Linked DNA regions of Homo sapiens: region 2 is linked to region 1. The links are contacts of gene promoters, found by promoter capture Hi-C in blood cells and fetal thymus (Javierre and others, 2016). All regions are on one chromosome and are shown on one strand. Each heading gives the region's core, a stretch centred on a gene start or on the middle of the fragment in contact. The rest is flanking DNA. Distances are from core to core; before and after follow the strand shown.

Region 1 (5,844 bases), core at 1,640-4,139:
GTTCCCGGCAACTCCCACGCCGGCCACTAGGAGCCATTGCAAACTGGCTGACCAGCCTCTGGTGGGGGCCACAAAGTAGGAGGCGATCACAGCCCCCACTGAGACAGCACTGAGTAGCAGATGGACACACGGAGCTAGGTGTCTGGCTGCCTCACAAGGGAGTGGATCCCATCGCTGCAGGCTGTTCAGATTCTAGAGACGATGGCCTAGCCTCGCCCCTCAAGGTGTGGTCTGAACTAGCAGCAGCAGCGTCATCTAGGAGCTTGTCAGAGAGGCAGCATCTGGAGCCCCTCTATAAATCCGAAGCTGAATTTTTATATAATAAATCCGAATCTGCATTTTCTTTTCTTTTTCTTTCTTTTTTTTTTTTTTCTTTTTTGAGATGGAGTCTTGCTCTGTCACCTAGGCTGGAGTGCAGTGGCACGATCTCGACTCACTGCAACCTTCGCCTCCCAGGTTCAAGCAATTCTTGGGAGGCCTCAGCCTCCCAAGTAGCTAGGATTACAGGTGCATGCCACCATGCCCAGCTAATTTTTTGTATTTTTAGTAGAGACGGGGTTTCACCATGCTGGCCAGGCTGGTCTCAAACTCCTGACCTCATGATCCACCCACCTCGGCCTCCCAAAGTGCTGGGATTACAGGCATGAGCCACCACGCCCAGCCCGAATCTGCATTTTCATAAATCCACAGGTGATTCACATAGAAACGGTCTAGGCTTTTGGGTTCCCTTCTAAGTCAGAGGTTCAGCTCCCTTGGCTTGTGGGCAATGGAGGGAGGACTGTCAGAAATGACTCTCAGGTCCCTCCCACCTGAAAACAGGAGTGCCAGGAAATAGACCAGCAGCTGTGCACCTTGGCTCCCACTGTGGACCCCTCTACTGGCCATGCTTGTCAGGGGGCAGGACTCTGTAGGCCCCGATACCCAGGAGAGGCTATTAATGATATCAACTATTCTAGTGTACAATTATCTCATGTGATACCATATGTATGTCATGTGCCAAGTGCTGTTGTCTCATTTACCCCTCCAATGTGAGGTGCCATCATTATGCCCATTTTAAAGATGAGAAAACTGGAGCTCAAACCGTGTAGTAACACAGCCAGTAAGAGACAGAATCAGGATTGACATCCAAGTTCAAGTTGACATCCAAGGCCCAAACTCAAGTTGTCCCATTGTGCCTCAGTTTCCCCAGGGCCTTGCTGTGATATCTGGTGGTGGGGGGCAAGGCTCATGATATCTGGGGCAGGAGTACTGGGCATGGAGTTTTTTGGGCAAGAGTTGAGATTCAAGTTCTGCCAGTGACTTGCTACGTGACTGAACATGTGGACAAACGGCTTTGGAAGGTGGAGGTGAAGCTCAGTTTTCTCCTCTGTAAACTGGAGTAGAGACAACCTGTTTCTGAGTGATGATGGAGATTAAATGAGGTTCTGGCCAGTCCTTGATCAATGTGATTTTGCTTGTGTCCAGGTGTCTGCCTCCTGCCCCGGTCCACAGCCAGGAGCCCCGGAGCCAACGGCCAGCCTGGAAGACTTACAGTTCTCCCTCTGAGGGTTGCTGTGGCTTTCCATGTTGTGGTGACTAAGTCCCTGTGTTTCTGTGCAGTCCCTGCTTCCTGGGACCAGGGAAGAATGGTCCCGTAAGTCTCACCCTAATGGCAAGTCTAGGACAGCTTTACTTTGTTCTCGTATAATCCTGGGCCCCTTCTCCCTCCTAGAGCCCCAAGTCCCCTATTCCAACTACCCAAGCCACCCACACTGGCATCATGCCCTACCCATCCCCTTTGGAAGAACAAACAGCAGGACAGGATGCCAGCGTGGTTCTCAGGCTTCCCAGGCACGAAGACTTGGAGCCTGAGGGAGAGAAGCTCCTGCCCGTGCTCCTCAAAGGAGCGTGAAAATACAGTGAGATCGTGGCTTGTGGTGGGGCCGATTCCATGGCTCTGGGAACTCAGCATTTGCCGAGGGGATGACAAGGCTTAGCAGCTGTGGCCTTGGTCCAGTTTGGGCTTGGGGAGGCACAGACTGGAGTGCTTCTCCCCCTACATCCATGTCATTCTGGGCTCCACCATGGCTCTCCTCTATTGCTCTGACCTTTCTTTGCTGTGTGGCTTTGGGCAAGTTGCTTACCCTTTCTGAGCCTCACTTGACTGAAAACTGGGGTTGCAAGTTGCTTACCCTTTCTGAGCCTCACTTAACTGAAAATTCCTTATGGGATTGTTGTGCATGTTAGACAAGGTAGATGTCCCACAGGCTCTTTGGTGAATGTCCCATGCAGCATTCAGGGATAAGGCCATTACTCCACAGAGGTGTCTCCTGTTCCCCTCTAGCTAGGGCGGGCGGGTCACTCACTGCCTAAGAGTCCAACAGCATTGATGCCCTTGCAGAATGAACCTTCCAATCAGCTAGGCATCCATCCAAATGCTGGCTCAGAGTTAGGCCAAGCATGTCATGTCTTGAGTGCCCCCATTCATAATGAGGATACATTAAAGTCCTCTTCAATTTGCCTGGTAAGTTTGATGAATGATCATGAATGGTCTTCACAGAGGCCTCACAAACTGTATACCCTTCACCTGGGAAGATGCTGAGGCCCAGAGAAGGCAAGACACATATCTGAGGTCACACAGCAGGGCTGGCCGGAGGCAGCTCTGAGTTCCAGGGAGAGAAGCCCTGCTTAGGCATGGGGGCCAGACTGTGCCCAATGTGGGGCCCTGGAGGAATTCTGCCAAGGGGGTCCTTGGCTGCGATTTTACATCCCCACCCCCTCCACACCCAAATAGTCAGCAGTGCATTCCAGGGCCCGGGCCTCCTTACCTTTGAGAGGAGGCAGAGGAGGGAGAAGGCCAGGAGGTGGGTCTTCGGTGTGCCTCTCATGTCCCCTGCAGAGCCAGCTTTGAGCCTGGGAGGCGGACCTGTGAGTCTTTATGTTCCGGCAGCTGTGAGGTCACTCCCAGGCACACACAGGCACACGCACGAGTACACACGCGCGCGCGCGCGCGCGCTCACACACACACACACACACACACACACACACAAACACACTAGCTTTTTCATTCCTTGCTTCGCTTCCCATCCTCATGGCTCAAAGGATGAGCCCATTTACCTGAAGGTGAAACTGTGAAGGCCACCAAGGGGGTGCCTGTCCGTGTGTGTGTGTGTGTGTGTGTGCGCGTGTGTGTGTGTGAAAGCCTGAGCCAGTGCCAGCACCAAGAGCCTGTGACAGCTTGCAGAGGCCTCTCCAGCTCCTTCCAGCCCAAGAGGGTCCTAGCCCTGCTGTAGTTGTGAAGCCCTATTCCAGACCCCCTGTCCGAACCCCAGCGGGGCTGCAGATACCAGAAGCATTCAGTAAACAACCCCTTTGCAGAGCTGACCCAAGGTCTCCTAAGCTCCGTGGCCCTGACTCTGGGTAGCCGCGGCCCAGCCTGCGGTTTCTGGCAGGCAGATTGGCAGCCACCCAGAGGTGGGTGTGACCCAGAGCAAAACTTCCCTGGGCGGCCTGTTTGCTCTTGGCAATAAGGGGCCTCCCTTGGCCTGCCTCCCGGCTCTGGAAGGGGGCCCGTGGTGGGCGAGTCCGGGCAGGCTGGACCTACTATGTGCCAGCGCTTGCTGGGCACCGCTAGATGATGGGGTCAAGCCAAATCCATTTGGTTTCATTCGGCCGCCTCTGAGTTCGCCTCTGCAGGAGCTGGAGGCACAACACTGACCTGAGGACAAGGCCCAGAGAGGGAGAAAACAGAGGGAAAACAGGTGGAAGTTCAGGAATACCAGGCAAGGTCCCTTGCTCAGACCAAGAGTGAGGGACACTTTCTGATGGAGGTGCCATTTCAGAAAGCCAAGAAAAGAGAGGGTGAGAGAGGGCAGAATGTTCCAGGCCAAGGGAACAGTACGTACCAACGCCTAGATGTCGGACATAGCATGATAGCCTGCTTATTCTGGGAGCCAAAGCGCCTGGTATGAGTGGAGCCTTCTGTGCAACGGGAAATGGTGATGTCTGTGAAGGGTGAGACACACAAGTTCACATCACCAAGATTTGGGGACATCTACTATGTGCCAGCCATGGGGGCGGGGGACAGAAAGACATGGGCTTTGTTTGTAGAATTTGGCAAAGATAAAAGAGGTGATGTCAAGGGCTGTCTGGGGCCCCCATTACCTCCACCAGTAGTTGTCCAAACCTCAAAGTGATCTAGCTGGATAGCAGAGGTTCCAGAATGGGCGATTGGTGAGGAAGAAGTGTGACTTGATATAGTGGCAAGACGGGGATTGTGAGCATGGAGGAGATTCCCCACGGGTGCTGTCCCATCGGAAGAGGCAATGGAAACGGAAGGTGAAGATGAAAGTGTGGGATTTGATTATTTATGGCAGGAAGAGGTGGCCAGGGTGGAGATGGGGGTCTGGAAACTTGGAGGAAAAGAAACAGAAGGGATCTTTTAAATTTTGTTTTATTTTTTGGGATTCTTGTGGAAATGCTAATGTTTTAGTCAGAAGCATGCCTAGAATAATTTACATCCACAGTGGATCATTTTTAACACCCCTCTTCCTTCATAGTACAAAATTATTTTCAGTAATAATCATGAAACAAAACAAATATTTTTCATGTATGAATTAAAATTTGCACTTACCAAACAAAATCATTACCATTCACAGTTCACACTGTTTTACTCTTTTAAAAACTGTAAATACAAATCAAAACTCCAAGTAGTTTCGTAAAATGACAAAATTGAAATACCCTTATCGTCATCTTTCCCATCATTCTGCGTTCATAGTTGATTTCACTCTACTGTTTAAACACAGAAATACAGCTGGGCCGGTGGCTCACGTCTGTAATTTGGGAGGCCAAAGTGGGAGAACCACCTGAGATCAGGAGTTCAAGGCCAGCCTGGCCAACATGGTGAAACCCGTCCCTACTAAAAAAAAAAATACAAAAATTAGCCGGACGTGGTGGGTGCACACCTATAGTCCCAAGTACTCAGGAGGCTGAGGCAGGAGAATTGCTTGAACCCGGGAGGTGGAGGTGGCAGTGAACCGACATCTTGCCGCTGCACTCCAGCCTGGGCGACAGAGAGAGACTCTGTCACACACACAAAATAATAATAAAAATAAATGCAGAAATATGAATGCTGGACGGTGGAGACAGGAATGCATTCAAAGCAAGCTTGGAAGATTCCAGAGTTGTGAGGAGCTTACTCTCAACTGATGTGTGTTCCTGAGACCACATGCTCTGGGGGCAACTATAGGATTCTTAAAGTTCTCCAAGTCAAGTTGACTTCCATGTAGAATATGTTTATTAAAGGATAAGAATAAAAATGTGCTGATTTGAAGCTTTACATATACATTATTAAACCCCAACAGTTACTGCACCAATTGTTAGAACTTAGATCAATAAAGGGTATTTTCAGGACAAAGTATTTTACCACTGAAATTATTTAGATCTGCCATTGCACAGTGATCATAAAAGCAGACTGACTTCTCATCAGTTTTATTTTATCTTTAAATTCTGTAGGCCCCCCACCCGTTATTGCCTGCATCCAGGAAAGGTCACTCCGACTTTCCTGTCCTCCCTAGGCCACTGATATTAATAAAAATAAAAGCAATTGTGTATAGCACCCAGCAAGATCCAGCCCTTGTGCTAAGCACTGTTTATAAAAAGCAGCATTTCTAATCCTCATGATCCACATCTCAATTGAAAAAAGTGAGGTTCAGAAAGGTTAAGTAACTTGCCTAAAGCTACACAGCTAGAAAACAGAGCCAGGTTTTCAGTGCGGGTTCATATGACTCCAACACCCAAGTTTCAGTTTTTGATGCTGTTTATTTCTGCTACTGTCCATAGAGCTCTCTGTGATAATGTTTTTTA
Region 2 (5,844 bases), core at 2,395-4,894, 150 kb before region 1:
CTGCTGGGATCCGCCACTTAGAGTCTCACAAAGCAAAAATTAAGTTGTCAGCTGGGCTGCATTCCTTTCTGGAGGTCATGGAGCTGAATCTACCTTCAAGCTCATGGAAGTTATTGCTCAGATTTCATTTCTTTCTTTCTTTCTTTCTTTTTTTTTTTTTTTTTGAGATGGAGTCTTGCTCTGTCGCCCAGGCTGGAGTGCAGTGCAGCGATCTCAGCTTACTGTAACCTCCGCCTCCTGGGCTCAAGTGATTCTCCTGCCTCAGCCTCCTGGGTAGATGGGACTACAGGCATGTGCCACCACACCCGGCTAATTTTTGTACTTTTAGTAGAGAAGGGGTTTTGCCACATTGCCCAGGCTGGTCTCGAACTCCCGAGGTCAGATAATCTGCCTGCCTTGGCCTCCCAAAGTGCTAGGATTACAGACGTGAGCCACCGCGCACGGCCCTTCATGTTGTTTTAAAATGTGACACCATCCCTCCAATGTCCTGTAAACTGGTAGTTCAATCTAGAGGCCTGATTAGATTTCAGTTCAGTTTTTGGCAATCATATTTTATAGACAGGACTTGTATTTTCTATGGCGTCATCTCAGGAGGCACATAACATCTAATTGTTCCTCAATGATCTCTCCCAATCTGAAAATATACTTTCTTCAGTTCTGGAATAATTTTCATGAATTATTTCTTTGAATATTTTCTTCCTTCCTCTCCCCATTTTCTATATCTTCACTTTCCAGAACTCTAATTTTTCAGGTGTTTGACCTCTTGAAATGGCTTTCTAATTTTACTGTTTTTTTTTCTTTTTCTTTCCAATTTTTCATCTTTTTGTCTTTGTGTCTCTTTTCTGAATATTATCTTCCAACCTGTACTAAGTCATGCCTCTGTGCAGGAGATAGGAACAGAAACCACTCTAGGTATTGTAGGCAGAAAGGGATTGACTATAGGGAATTAGGTGGTTACAAATTCATGAGAAGAGCAGGAGTTGCAGAAGTCCAGGAGGCTTTTGTTTCAAAGTCACCATAGATGTGATTGAGAGGCCAGAGGTGCTGCTGCTACTCTTGCTCTGGTCACTGTAACTATCTGACACACATGAAGCTGGGGACTAGGCAGTGGATCAGGGAGTCTAGCCACTTTGATTTTGCTCAAAAGTAAACTTCAAAGATAAAGAGGGCTGTTGTTTGGCTTGAATGAGAAGTTGAAATTGCAAGGCAGTCTATGATATTTCAAGGTCTTTGCTATACATGCAACCAATTTTGGCTTTTCATTTTAATGGAACAAGGGCTGAGATCCTAACTCAGAGAGGTCTATAGGTTTAATCAGAAATAGAGCTCCTCAGTGGCTCATGTCTGTAATCCCAGCGCTTTGGGAGGCCGAGGTGGGTGGATCATCTGAGGTCAGGAGTTTGAGATCAGCCTGTCCAACATGGTGAAACCCCGTCTCTACTAAAAATACAAAAATTAGCTGGGCATGGTGGCCAGCGCCTGTAATCCCAGCTAGTCAGGAGGCTGAGGCAGGAGAATGGCTTGAACCCGGGAGGCGGAGGTTGCAGTGAGCCGAGATTATGCCATTGCACTCCAGCCTGGGCAACAGAGCGAGACTCGGTCTAAAAAAAAAAGATATTTTTTGGCATTTAATTTTAAGTAGGGAAATACCTGCTGTATTCATTTTAAAATAATGTATATTTATTACATAGTAATGTGTGGATATATTTTTATTGTAAGAAAACTAAAATATTAAAGATTAAAAACTAAAATTCCCTATGATCGCCACCTCCCAATGCCATTTCTCCTCCCCAGAAGTAACCACATATCAGTTATATATAGCAACATGTATTATCAGTGATGGTAGGTTAGGTTATGCTACAATAACCTACAATAACAACATCCTCAAAGTCTCAGTGTCTTATATTAATAAAAGTTTATGTCTTTTGTTTGTTTGTTTTTTTGTTGAGACAGGGTCTCACTCTGTCTCCCAGGCTGTAGTGCAGTGGCATGATCATGGCTCACCGTAGCCTCGACCTCCTGGGCTCAGGTGATCCTCTCATCTCAGCCTCCCAAGTAGCTGGGACTACAGATGTGTGCCACAAGGCCCAGCTAATTTTTTGTGGTTTTTGTGGAGACAGGGTTTTACCATGTTGCTCAGGCTGGTCTCGAACTCCCCAGCTCAAGCAATCCATCTGCCTCAGCCTCCCAGAGTGCTGGGATTACAGGCGTGAGCCACTGCGCCCAGCCTAAAAATTTATATCTTAATTGCATGTTTGTGATGGGTTGAATTCAGCTGTATCTCTGGACACAGCTGGAAGAAGCAGCTGGAACATGCTGATCTCATGGAATAAGGAAAAGAGAGAATGGGGGAGCCTCTTAAAGCTTCTGCTTGGATGTCTCACATGTCACTTCCACTCAAATTCCCTTGGCCAAAGCAAATCATATGGCTATGCCTGACTTACGTGGGGTGGGGATGTAGAATCCTTCCATAGGGCAAGTCGGTAAAATTCCATCCTTTTATAGTGTATGTAAAACTCTAGAAATAGATATAATTTTTATATAGTTTATTAGGGTACTGAATCTTATTTCTTCATGCAAAAATATGTCTTAGAGGTCTTTCCATATTATACAAATAGATCCATCTCTTTTTAATTTAATTTTTTAATTTTTTTAACCCCAGGGCAGAAGGCACCATCTCCTTTTTATTTTATTTTTATTTTTATTTTTCAGATGGAATCTCACTCTATCGCCCAGGCTGGAGTGTAGTGGCATGATCTCGGCTCACTGCAACCTCCGACTCCTGGGTTCAAGTGATTCTCCTGCCTCAGCCTCCCAAGTAGCTGGGATTACAGGCGCCCACCACCACGCCTGGCTTTTTTTTTTTTGTATTTTTAGTAGACATGGGGTTTCATCATGTTGGCCAGGCTGGTTTCAAACACCTGACCTCAAGTGATCCCCCAGCCTTGGACTCCCAAAGGGTTAGGATTACAGGCGTGAGCCACTGTGCCTGGCCAATTCTTCCATTTCTTATTTGAGAATGTCAAAGAATGCATCTCCAATCAGCCAGTGGAATATTGCATTTTATTTATTTGTTAATGGCTTGCAACCCATAAAATAATCCATACATTATATCAACATGAATGACCCAAATGTATTGGTTATTGCAGCTGGATGGCATGCATAGCCTAGGTCACAGGTGGATGGAAGACAGACAAAACCATTTTTACTCTCTGAATTCCTCCTCCACTACCCCATCACTGATGTTGTCTCCCTCCCAGCCATCTCCCTTATTTGAGGAGCAATGCATGGGGAATAGGTAGTGGGCGCTGCAGTGCATACTGTGGTGTGCCACCCAGACCCCCATCCCCAGGATGGGGCATTTATTCCCCCAGCTGCTGGGAGCATTGGCTGCTGGCAGCTCTCAGCTGAGTCCCTATGACTGTTCGAGGTGGACATTCCAAGGTCCTGTCCTCTTGCCATCCCAGCTCTATATTCCCCATGGCATTAGCCAAGGCCTCTGCTGAGGTTGCACTGCAGTTTGACTTTTCCTTTCCACAGATGTAATCCCGACAGCACTCTGCAATAGACTTCCTGACTTCAAATCTCCATATTGGAGTCTGATTCCTCGGGACCTGACTCACAACAGCCCACCACAGGCTCTGAAGTCAGACAGAACTGGGTTTCAGTCTTATCCCAAACACCAACTAGATATGTAATCCTAGAGATGATAAGTCCACTATACACCTTGTATGCCTCGGGTTTTTAATATCAACTGAATGTTGATAGTTTCTTGGAAACTGCAACTTTAAGTGAAATGATGTATGATGAAACCATTTTTTCCCTCATAATCATAATGGAAGGACATTACTTGAGGACGTGCTGCACATCATTTTGCTTAAAGTCGCAGTTTCCAAGAACCCATCGAAGAAGTTAAGTGAGGACTTACTATATACACTTCTTGCAGTTACTGTGAGGATGAAATAACACATGTAAAACACTGAGCACAGTATCTGGTACGTACTAGGTGCTCAAAACAAGTGCTAGCATGTTAGTAGTACTATTACATTAAAATGATAATCTTGGTAGAGTAATTAGATGATCCAGGACAGAGGAGATGGAGAGATTTTGCTAAAATTCATTCTCTCTTTTCCCCTCCTTGCCTGCATTTCCAGTGCCCTCACGCCCCGCTGAAACAGAAATAGACCTGTTGTGCTAACTTATTTCCGGAAGATGGCGCCAGCAGATAACGCTGCGGACGAGTCCCTTTGGTTTTCTTTTTCTTTTTCTTTTTCTTTTTCTTTTTTTTTGAGATGGAGTCTCGCTCTGTCGCCCAGGCTGGAGTGCAATGGCACGATCTCGGCTCACTGCAACCTCCGTCTCCCAGGTTTGAGGGATTCTCCTGCCTCAGCCCCCCAAGTAGCTGGGATTACAGTCATGTGCCACCACGCCTGGCTCATTTTTGTATTTTTAATAGGGGGGGGGTTCACCATGTTGGCCAGGCTGGTCTTGAACTCCTGGCCTCAAGTGATCCGCCTACCTCGGCCTCCCAAAGTGCTGGGATTACAGGTGTGAGCCACTACGCCTGGCCAGGAACAATTTTCACTATTCACAGATTACATATCAATTTCACATGTGTTATCTCATTTGATTCTCCTTCACCAACCATTTACCAAATGCTGATTATTCCATCTTTACTGTTTTATCCCTTCGCCAACAAATGCTTACTGAGCACTTACTCTAGCCAAAGAGCATCTTTAAATGCCTTCTCAAGCGCAATGACTAAGAAACAAAAAAGGAAATAGAATTCTAAGCCTCTGCTGGAGAGCTGGACTTTCCAGAGATGAATAAGACAAGTTCCAGCCACTGATTTCTTTCTGGTTCTGGGTTGATGTCAACTTGTGCTCTGGAAGGAGGCTGCTTTCATAAAGCAGAAGAAGCTTAATTCAAGTGAAACTGAGTCAGAAAGAAAGCAATTCCTTTGCAGGAGCAGCTAGGGTGCATCTCAGAGACTGTCTGCAGTACTTCCCAAGGGCTATTGATCTGAGAGCAGAGCATTCGGTCCTTGGACTGGTGAAAATTGCTGAGCAGGCAAAAGAAGAATAAAACCCGTAAAGGGAATGGAGAAAAGATGTTGAAGGGCTTCCGGGTAGGGAAGGTTAGCTGGACTGCATTCAGGAGCTCCAGACAGAAGTGACTCTGCAGTTCCTTGAGCTTCGCAGGCAGGCCTGCAAGCAAACCTGGAAACCACGAGACCAGGGCCTGGCGATCCATTTCTTTGGTGGGGACAGAGGTGCTCACCCTCAGCCTTCTCACGCTCACTCCAGAACTGTGACGGGGTGAGCTCACGTGACAATCACCTCAGCAGTGCAATTTTAGGGGTGTCAAGAAGGGCTCCTTCTATGGCTGAAATCTCTTTCAACAGTTACTGTCTGGTGCCCCAAATGCCACCACTGGTGTCCTTTATTTCTTTTCTTTTCTTTTCTTTTCTTTTCTTTTCTTTTTTTTTTTTTTTTTGAGGCAGGGTCCCACTCTGTCATCTAGACTGGAGTGCAGTGGCGCGATCTGGGCTCACTGCAACCTCTGCCTCCTGGGTTCAATCAATTCTCCAGCATCAGCCTCCTGAGCAGCTGGGACCACAGGTGCATGCCACCGTGCCAGGCTAAGTTTTATATATTTTTGTAGAGATGAGACTTCACCATGTTGGCCAGACTGGTCTCGAACTCCTGACCTCAAATGATCCTCCCGTCTCGGCCTCCCAAAGTGCTGAGATTACAGGCACGAGCCACTGCGCACAGCCCATTAGTGTCCTTTAATATGAATATTGCAAGAGTTAAAAACAGGACTTCTATAAAGAAATGTATA

What was found. Contacts are between HindIII fragments. The CHiCAGO score rates a contact against its expected background, and 5 or more counts as called.
Region 2: a contact is called between a fragment that was not itself captured here and the fragment with the promoter of CCN5 in region 1, in 5 of 17 cell types (M2 macrophages, M1 macrophages, M0 macrophages and 2 more). The highest score is 9.5, in M2 macrophages.

The regions. Positions count from the first base shown.
Region 1 is chr20:44,712,414-44,718,257 of GRCh38, reverse strand. It overlaps CCN5 (cellular communication network factor 5), which reads right to left and starts at 2,889. Exons shown (of 4, transcript NM_003881.4): 1 at 2,808-2,889. The coding sequence starts at 2,867. KCNK15-AS1 (KCNK15 and WISP2 antisense RNA 1) reads left to right here. Exons shown (of 5, transcript NR_132377.1): 4 at 1,465-1,633. It overlaps LOC124904911 (a long non-coding RNA gene), which reads left to right and starts at 3,484. Exons shown (of 2, transcript XR_007067598.1): 1 at 3,484-4,317. RefSeq lists a silencer at 3,296-3,590. The HindIII fragment of the contact is 18,609 bases long and covers 1-5,147 here.
Region 2 is chr20:44,866,122-44,871,965 of GRCh38, reverse strand. No RefSeq gene overlaps it. Among named protein-coding and RNA genes, the nearest start is that of YWHAB, 17 kb to the left of the region's middle. The HindIII fragment of the contact is 2,555 bases long and covers 2,367-4,921 here.